3 separate regions of the Homo sapiens genome follow, and all the other regions are linked to region 2. Evidence: promoter capture Hi-C in 16 types of primary human blood cells and fetal thymus (Javierre and others, 2016). All regions are on one chromosome and are shown on one strand. The core of a region is centred on a gene start or on the middle of the fragment in contact, and the rest is flanking DNA. Distances in the headings are between cores, read along the strand shown.

Region 1 (3,297 bases), core at 237-2,736, 260 kb after region 2:
GTAGAGACGGGGTTTCACCATGTTAGCCAGGATGGTCTCGATCTCCTGACCTCATGATCCACCCGCCTCAGACTCCCAAAGTGCTGGGATTACAGGCGTGAGCCACCGCGCCTGGCGAAGCTTCTTCATACATTGTTGGAGCTTAGTATTTATTGAATAAACCCATGTGTATATTTAATTTTAACAATATTACTTGAAAAATATGAAAATAGATTTTAGGTATTTTGAATTCAAACTTTTTGCTAATATAGACTGGCCTGTCCAGGGAGAATCATAGGAAGGTTCCACTGTGTTTATGTTTTTATTTTTTTTTTTCAGAATAGTCTTACCTAGTTCATTATTCCACGGTGGAAAAGATTTCCTGCTTTGTTAAGCCATCTACTTAGAGATTTCTTCATGGCCAGGCACAGTTGGCTCACACCTGTAATCCCAGCACTTTGGGAGGCTGAGGTGGGAGGATTGCTTGAGCCCCGGAGTTTCAGACCAGCCTGGGTCACATGGCAAGACCTCATCACTACTATTTTTAAAATTTTATATATATATATATATATATATATATGTAAAAGAGAGCTTCCCACAACTAAAGACCACTTATCAAACTCTAGTACATTCTGGTCAGGTATGGTGGCTCATGCCTGTGATCCCAGCACTTTGGGAGACTGAAGTGGGAGAATAATTTGAGGCCAGGACCAGGGGCAGTGGCTCACACCTGTAATCCCAGCACTTTGGGAGAATGAGGTGGGAGGATCGCTTGAGTTCAGGAGTTCGATACCAGCCTGGGCAACACACCGAGACCCTGTCTATACTAGAAATAAAAAAACTTAGCTGGGTGTGGTGGCACGTGCCTGTAGTCCCAGCTGCTTAGGAGACTGAGGTGAGAGGATCTCTTGAGCCCAGGAGGTTGAGGCTGCAGTGGGCAGTGGTCATACCACTGCACTCCAGCATGGGCAACACACTGAGACCCTGTCTCAAAAAAAACAGTTGAGGCCAGGAGTTTGCAACCAGCCTGGGCAATAGTTAGACCCTGTCTCTACCAAAAATTATTTTTAAAAAACCCGAAAAACAGGCCAGGCATGGTGGCTTGCACCTGTAATCCCAGCACTTTGGGAGGCTACGGCGGGTGTATCACTTGAGCTCAGGAGTTCAAGACCAGCCTGGGCAATGTGGCGAAACCCTGTCTCTACCAAAAATACAAAAATTAGCCAGGCATGGTAGCGCATACCTGTAGTGCCAGCCATTTGGGAGGCTGAGGCACAAGAATCGCTTGAGTCCAGGAGGTGGAGGTTGCAGTGAGCCAAGATGGTGCCATTGCACTCCAGCCTGAGCGACAGAGCGAGACACTGTCTCAAAAAAAACCAAAAAACAGGTCCGGGCGCAGTGGCTCACGCCTGTAATCCCAGCACTTTGGGAGGCTGAGACGGGCGGATCACGAGATCAGGAGATCGAAACCATCCTGGCTAACACGGCGAAAACCCGTCTCTACTAAAAATACAAAAAATTAGCCGGGCGCGGTGGCGGACACCTGTAGTCCAGCTGCTCGGGAGGCTGAGGCAGGAGAATGGCATGAACCTGGGAGGCGGAGCTTGCAGTGAGCCGAGATTGCACCACTGCACTCCAGCCAGGGCGACAGAGTGAGACTCAGTCTCAAAAAGCAAAACAAACAAACAAAAAAACAGCCGGGCGTGGTGGCATGCGTCTGTAATCCCAGCTACTTGGGAGGCTGAGGTAGGAGAATCGCTTGAACCCAGGAGGCTGGAGGTTGCAGTGAGCCGAGATCATGCCACTGCACTGCAGCCTGGGTGACAGAGCAAGACTCCGTCTCAAACAAAACAAAACAAAACAAAACCAGTGCCTTCTAGTAGCAATCCTAGACCTGTTGGCCACTTTTATTTATATATTCTTTATTTCTCAGTAGGTATAATTTTAAAATACATTTTAGTAGCAGAGAGAAGAAACTTAAATAGCAGTTTCCACTTAATTATTATTTTCCTCATTTCTTTTTTTGAGACAGCGTCTCATCCTTTTGCCCAGGCTGGAATGCAATGGTGCAATCTTGGCTCACTGCAGCGTCAACTTCCTGGGCTTAAGTGATCCTCCCACCTCAGCCTCCCAGTTATCTGGTACTCCAGGCATGCACCATCACACCCGGCAAAATTATTTTTTGTCAATGCAGGGTCTTGCTGTGTTGCCCAGACTGGTCTTGAACTCCTGGCCTCAAGTGATCCTCCCGAAGTGCTGGGATCACAGGCATGAGCCACTGTGCCTGGCCTTATTTTCCTTATTTTTTAACCAACCCACTCTGTACGTCTCCATGCCTGTAGCTTAATTGAAGTAGTAGGAATTACTAATGCTCCATCAGCAGAGGTATTTGAGCAGATGAGTAAGGAAGGCTTTGTTTTATTTTGTTTCTACGTGTTTTGGCTATAGAGGCCCTTAGGAGTAAAGAATCAGGTAACATTTCTTATTTTTTCTTCCATACAGGATATATTTTGGAGAAGTTCAGCTGAGTGGCTTAGGAGAAGGTATGTATCAACGGTTGAAAAACATCGTAGTGTTCAGAGCTCTCCTAACTTCAGAGATGATCTTCGTTTCTACTTGTTATAATATGTAGATTGTCATCTTAATATGCATAATACAAGTAAAGAAAAGATGAGAATGCAGGTAGGTGGTCCAGGTTACCCCTGATCTGCCAGGGTAACCAAATAATTTTTCCCAAAGTTCCAGGAACTCAGTCTTCTTTCTTACTCTTTATAAAACTGTATATTTTCCTAATTTTCTACAGTGAGGATGTTAAATGTTTCTGATGAACAACAAGAATTTTGAAAAATTGGAAATGAAACCAAGAAAATCAGGAAAGCTTTGTTGAAAGTGTCACTTGCAAGGCCTTGGCTCTTTACTTAGCCGTGGAGTGGCAGCTTGGGTGGAAGGCAATTACTTCTTAAACTGAAGTGTTTGTGTGACATTCTAGTGCTCCTTCATTGTCTTTTTTAGCATGTGATGTATCCTTTGCAGGGCTGGTTAGTAGAACTTTCTCAGGCCTTAAAACTAACAGTTATTTTATCTCTTTGAAGGTAGCTTTATCTATAAATAGAGTGCTGTTTCCCTTGCCAATATTGGCTCAATATAGAATACATTGAGAGGGAAGAAACCTATATATACACACACATACACGCACATACACACACACACACACACACATATGAAATTAAGGCTGCTGCACTTAACATGCTAAGTGGATAATGCCAGAGATTACACAATAGGCCAAATAATTCAGGGAAAGACGGTCTGGGGGCAGTG
Region 2 (3,103 bases), core at 75-2,574:
GCCGCCCATTCTCGCGGCGAGAGGGCATCCGCAGTGCACCCACAAGGCGGAGGCCCGGACAGAGCTCGGGTCAGGCGAGTGCAAGACTCTTGTCCTCCTTCTCTCCTCACCCTGCACCCTACCCCAGAGGCACTGTCTAGCCCCTGTGACCAAAGTGGGGACCCAGTTTCTCACGCTAGGGTCGGGCGGGCCTCGAGGGCCGTGTTTTCCTAGGCCATCTGGAGGCTCCTCCATGTCTCCGCCGTGGTCGAAGGAGCCCTGGCTCTCGGGTGCCCCGCCCTCCCTCCAAGCCCCTAGCACGCAGTTCCTGCAGCCTCTGGGCGTGGGCACTGTGTTTCCCGAGTCCTCGACACCCCTCTTCCCCGGGCGAGACCGGAGGGGGTGCTCCGCACGCCCGTGGGGTGGTTTGGGGTGTAGGTCTTCGGTTCTTGGGCATTCACTCCATGGCTCTGGGAAGGCTGTGGCCCCTGGATCTGTCCCTGGGGCGGGAGAGGAGACTCCAGAGTCCAAGGGAGGGAGAGGCGAAGATTTGGCACCGACATTGTGCCCAACACTTCCGTTGCGGGGCCGGAGGAGGGGGCCTGGAGCTGGAGGACCCCGGCTTGGAGGCTGGGCAGCAAAGGGGGGTAGTACCGGAGCGGGGGAGGGGTGTCGGGGAGGGCAGGGGTGTTTTCCGTCGGGGCTCAAGGTCGTAGATGGAGGACTCCAGGGGCCGGAGTGGGCTGGCAGCGCGGGGGCAAAGGGGTGGAGGGAGAGGGAGGGCGGGGAGACGGCGGGAAAAGGGCTCTTTGGGGCTTCAGCGCCCGGCGCCCTGCTGAGCCGCCAGTGGGAGGGCTGGAGTACAGGGTCCCACCCCCGACGGCTGCCCCTGGCTCCGTGGGGTCTGTGGGCGGGCAATCCCCCGCCCCCGACATCCTGGATGCCCACCCCTTCCCACGGGCGCACCCGGGCGCACCTGGAGAAGCCTCCGAGAGCCCCCGGCCTTGCTTCCAGCGGGGTCCCCCAGCCCCGGCCCACTGCCGCTCCCGGCCCGCGCTCGCCCCGGAGGGGGTCTGGCGCCCTGTCCCAGTCGAACCCACCTCTGGGGAGCCTCAGAGCGTCCCGGGGACCTGCTTCCTGCTCTTCCCGGCGAGCCCCCCGCCCCCGCGCCGCCGCGGAGCCACTTACCCGCCGCCTCTGCCCAGCTCCCCTCGCGCCAGACAGACGGCGGGACGGACGCGCGGCCCCGCGGGCCGGCGGGGCGGGCGGCCGGGCCGAGGGCCGGGGGCGGGGACGGGGTGTCGAGGGGCGGCCCCTGCTCCGCCCGCAGCTCCCGGCGCTGTGGCTCCGACTCGCGCTCACGCTCGCACTTTTCCCCGAGCCGCGTGATGTCACGAGGAAGCAGCCAATCGTGGCGGGGCCGCGCCGCCCGCCCCGGGCCGGTCACCCGGCGGCGACGCGCGGGGGTCAACACCCGAGGCGTCGGAGACCCCGGCGGTCCGCGCCCCTCTCGGGGGCTGGCCGGCAGCTCCCTGCTTGGGCACAGAGGGCGCCGCCCACGGCCAGCGACGCAGGGGAGCAGGGGGCGCTGCCCTCCGGGGGGTGGGGGTGTCCGCGTTGTCATGGGGACGCGGCGCCCCCTCGCGGGCTGGGGAAGGAGCTGGCAGCTGGGTCCGGCCGCGCTCCCGCCTCCGCCCTGACCATACTCCCGGGACCCTGAGCTATTTTCGCGCCTCTCCGGGACCTCAGCGCCCTGCGTGGCCCCGCTGGCGGTTTGGCCGCGAGGCGCGGGAGTCTGACCCCAGCGGGAGGCTGCGGGTGGGTGGGGCGGGCTGCGCCGCCAGGGATCCGTCGGGGTCGAGGGCCGGGAGCTCCAGCCGCGCCGCTGCGTGCCGGCCGGGCCGCCCGCGAGGAGGGGCGCCGTCGGGGCCTGGGGAAGCGCAGGAGCGGGTGGACTGGAGAGGTTCGGCCGGGGAGAGAAGAGCCCACCGCGGACCACTCGCCCGCACCCGCTCGGCTGCCTGCTCAGCGTTCCGGGCCGGGGAAGGGGCGCGCCCCTGCTCTCCCAGCCCTGGGATGGGACGCGCCGCCAGTCCAGGCGCAGCCTGGACCGCCAGTTCACCGCCGCCTGTGAGGGACAGTCGGTTGCCCAAGGTCGCCGGGGCCGGAGCCCGGGACAAGATCCCGGAGAGCGGGCAGCCAATCTCAGAGGTCGCTGGGAACCGCACGGGCCGTAGCCTCAGGACTCCGGGCCTCGCCCAGGCTGGGCGGACCTTGGGGCGGCTTCAGCACCTCGGAGAGCTCCCCGCGCCCTGGCCCAGCAGCCTCGCCTGCCTGATTCCGCTCCAGCGCTTGTCTCCCTCCGAGAGCGCCCTTCCGGGGGACCGCCGGGGTCGGACGCTCCCCACTGCGCCCAGGACCGAGGCCTGTAACCCCAAATTCTGATCGCAAACATTTGATTAAGCTTAAGACGTCTGATTTCTTCTCTCGGGGAAACAACTCAAGACCCTCCCCCGAGGGCCGGAGGTGGTGAGGGCGATTGCGGGGGCGGCGGTGGAGGAGAGGCAGGAGCCTCTTGGCAGAGAATGGGAGGGAACTCGAGTAGAAGCCAGCGCTGCGGGGCTCTTGGTGTGGGGTTCTCCGCGCGGAACCCGGAAGTGGAGTTCGGGTCCCCAGAGCTCGCGAGCGCGACGGCTGGGGTTGGTCGGAATTGGGAACTTCAGGGCTGGGGTTGGTTGGCTAGAGTAGGAAGCCATCTTCTGTTGTTACATGAATGATCGGGTCTCCCAAGACCTCATAACTGGGGGTGAAAGAAGCACTACTCTTCTTGCCCCACTTCACAAATAAGGAAAGTTGGTTCATAAGACCCTAAGACGGCACTCCTGCACTTCTTCCACTTTGCCATATCCTTCCCAGGGCACAGAAGAGTGTGATACTCCTAAGAGGAGGTGGGGGTTGTGGAGGAGGAAGGCAGATAGATCCTTAAAACAGTCAGATGAGAAAACAAGCAAGGCCAAGGGCGGGAGGCTGCATACACAAGACACGCCTCCAGCTACTGACCCCAGCTCTTCCAGAAGCTGGCAGGCAAAGTCACTTTAATTTCTCCACAATCCCTGTTATGAAG
Region 3 (3,019 bases), core at 176-2,675, 510 kb before region 2:
GATTACCGTGAGGGCCCAGTGAAAGGGGCCTGATCACGAAAGCTGAGAAAGTAGTGGCCACCCCTCTGGGCCCCAGGGACAGGGAAAAGAGAAGCAGCCATGACCTTTGGCTCTAGGTATTGGGATATTCTCAGGGCTGGTGGTCGGAGGTTGCCTTCTGCACGGAAGGTGCCTCCAGCTCCTTGCTAGGTGCCGCACTGAAGGAAAGGGGCCAGCATGACTGGTCGGCAGTCCAGATTTGCAAATAGGACTCCACGAGTTGTGGCACAGTTTGCTCTGCACGTTTTCTGCCCTGTGGACAGGGTCTCTAGGGTTCTCTCGAGAGACCAGAGAAGCCAATGAGGTTTGACCAGAGGCTCTACGACCCAGCAAAGCTAAGGCCCTAGCCTTGGCAGTCCGTACTCTGAAATAACTCAATCGGGAAACTCAGGGACTTGAAGGCCTGGAAGCCCAGGAATAACACCCTCTCGAGGGAGAGACAATGAGGAAGAAGCCATGGCCAAAGCCTAGCAGGGATGGAGGTGCCAGAGGGAACAGAAACAACCAAAATGATCCCAAGAAGTCAACAGTGGGAGGAGAGGGAAAGGCGCCAAGTCTTAGAATGTGTGTCTGTGGGTGCAGAAGAGGGGTGCTCTGCAGGAAATGCAGTTGAGGCGCTAAGAAGGAGAATGCTGGGAAGGTCCTGGCGAGAGACCGAGAAGCCTGGAGGGCTCAATTCACCACGAGTAGCTGTTTGGGGCTGAAGAGAGATTTGGGTCAATCTTTAGAGAAGACAGCCTCTAGGGAGAGTCTTTGGGAGGGTCCCCTCAAGGTAAAGGGACAGGACTGGGGTGAGGGCTGGATCCCAGCGCAGGAGGTGGAGTGTTTCTGGGTCTCAGGCAACACATTTGTGTTACGTTACATTCTCACAACAACCATGAGAGGGACTGCTATTGTCCCATTTCACAGATAAGAAGACCAAACCTTAGTGCTCTGAAGTCACTAATGCAAGGCCCCACTGCCCAGTCACTTGTGGAGCCAGTGAATTCACACCACCTGACTCCAAACCTGTACACTTTAAGAGCCCACTGACATCCTCTCCTTTCTCTGCCTTCCTCCACGACCCTCCTTTTCCGCCTGCCTTCTTGGTCTCTGCTGCGGGGGGCCAACCTGGACCTTGGGGTCCAGTGTCCTGCCATTAGTCATCTGATACCCGGGCACTAAGCCCAACCGGAGGGACAAAGCCCACACCGGCCACGGGGTGGAGGAGAGTCGATGTCGGATTTAGGGCGGGGCTGAACCAAGCCCAGGGCCGCGGGGGCCGTGGCTTCAGCACCGCGGAGAGCGCCATCTCCGGGGGCGGGGCTGGCGGGGTGGGGGCGGGGCCTGGGCGGGGCGCGCGAGACCCCGGCCGGGTCCCGGGGGCGCGCGCGGGGCGCTCTCGCCAGTCCCGCGGGCCGTGCGCGGTGCTGTGCCGCGCCCTGCCAGACACAGGTGCGCCCGCCTAGCCCGAACTCCGCGGCGGCGGCTGCCCTCTCGCCGCGCCTCCGCCTCCTTCGCAGCCGCCGCCTCCTCCGCGCCGCGCTCCGCCCGGATGGCCAGGGCTGTGCCCGAGAATGGCGGAGCGAGAAAGCGGCGGCCTGGGAGGGGGGGCCGCGTCCCCGCCCGCCGCCTCCCCGTTCCTGGGGCTGCACATCGCTTCGCCTCCCAATTTCAGGTGAGAGTCCCCGGCCGCCGCGCGCCTCGCCCTTCAGCGGGGACTGATCCGCATTGGCTGCCCTGCCCGCCCCCCACCCCAGAACCTCGGGAACCCGGGAACGAAAGGGCTGCGTGGGAGTGGGGTCTCTTCCCGGGACAGAGCCCCCCTCAGAAGCCCCGCCAGCCTCAAGTCCGGACTGGTAGCCGTTGCATGTTCACGAGGCTGTTCCCTCCGCCATTCCTGGTCCTAGGCTGGGAGGTCTGCGCTGGAATTGGAGGAGGGGGCTCGGAGGCCTCCTTCTCCCCAACCTCCGGGCTGCGGCAGGGTCTGGGGTCGGGGTTGCGATCCCGGAGCGGGCAGGCAGGCTGCATCTTAGCCTGTGAATAGAGCTGGGAACAGCCTGGAGGGGCGCGGGTCGCAGTTTCCTGGGGCAACGACATTGTTGGTGCTGGGAGGAGGATGTTTGAGCCCCTCCCCGAGCCCTGCCTGGCCAGATGGGCCTACCTGCCAGGCCTGGCGTGGCCGGGCCCCTCTCTGGATTGGGCAGCACCGACCTAGGCAGGTGTGTCTCTCAGGGCAGGCGCTGAAGGCTCAGCCTCAACCAGGGGAATCCTAGGCCCGGCTGCGGGAAGGGAAGTCGGCTCGGCTCTGGAGTAGCCAGGGCCAGCGAGGGTGTCGAGGGGATCCCTGCTGGGGTAAATACCCAGAACCCTGACCTGAGCTCCTATTCCACCACCCCCACCCCCCAATCTGGTGTTAGGCCCGATGCATTTCAGAGAAGTGAGGGGTGAGTGTTGTGTGGAGGAGGAATAGATGTACCTCCCCCATAATTCTGAACCCTAGTTGGTGGGGAGGAAGAGGCCGAAGTCACTGCTCCCGGCCTAGAGAGGGAGGCTTAGACATACCCCATTGTTTCCCCATCTCGAGAACTGGCGCCTTCCCCTCTCCTGGGGCACCACCCCAGCCAGGCTCCAGCTGGGCTGTGGTGCCAGCCCCTCCTGGGAGCAAGGGGTCACTGGCTCCCAGGTCCTCAGGTGGGCAGAGACCCCTGGGGATCTCTAATAGCATCATCAAACTCAGAAACCTTCCCTGAGGCCCTGAGCTGAGCTGGAAGGACCAGAGGGGGCCAGATGGAGGAGGCCAGGCCTGAAGGCTCCAGGGCTGCAGCTCTCTGATAATGCCTTAGACTGAGGTCTGAGACTCCACCTGGCATGGTGCATGAGGCCTCCATGCAAATACTGCCTCCCCACCTGGAGGCCTCTGCAGTGGAAGCACATGGGGCTTAGAGGGACCTGGGTTCAAATCCTAGCTCCACTACTTTCTAACTGCATGACCCAGGCA

What was found. The method cuts DNA at HindIII sites, captures the fragments that hold promoters and counts their contacts. A CHiCAGO score of 5 or more calls a contact.
Region 1: a contact is called between a fragment that was not itself captured here and the fragment with the promoter of CHRM4 in region 2, in 1 of 17 cell types (endothelial precursors). The highest score is 7.4, in endothelial precursors.
Region 3: the fragment with the promoter of MAPK8IP1 here is called in contact with the fragment with the promoter of CHRM4 in region 2 in 11 of 17 cell types (non-activated CD4 T cells, total CD8 T cells, naive CD4 T cells and 8 more); the score reaches 12.3 in non-activated CD4 T cells.

Annotation. Positions count from the first base shown.
Region 1 is chr11:46,653,752-46,657,048 of GRCh38, forward strand. ATG13 (autophagy related 13) reads left to right here. Exons shown (of 19, transcript NM_001346311.2): 8 at 2,482-2,522. Among named protein-coding and RNA genes, the nearest start is that of ATG13, 38 kb to the left of the region's middle. The HindIII fragment of the contact is 2,737 bases long and covers 119-2,855 here.
Region 2 is chr11:46,390,452-46,393,554 of GRCh38, forward strand. CHRM4 (cholinergic receptor muscarinic 4) reads right to left here and starts at 1,325. Exons shown (of 2, transcript NM_000741.5): 1 at 1,080-1,325. RefSeq lists enhancers at 1-217, 218-821, 2,339-3,103 and silencers at 1,366-1,455, 1,636-1,685. The HindIII fragment of the contact is 9,198 bases long and covers 1-2,441 here.
Region 3 is chr11:45,884,226-45,887,244 of GRCh38, forward strand. It overlaps MAPK8IP1 (mitogen-activated protein kinase 8 interacting protein 1), which reads left to right and starts at 1,426. Exons shown (of 12, transcript NM_005456.4): 1 at 1,426-1,696. The coding sequence starts at 1,596. RefSeq lists a silencer at 1,288-1,687. The HindIII fragment of the contact is 6,698 bases long and covers 1-3,019 here.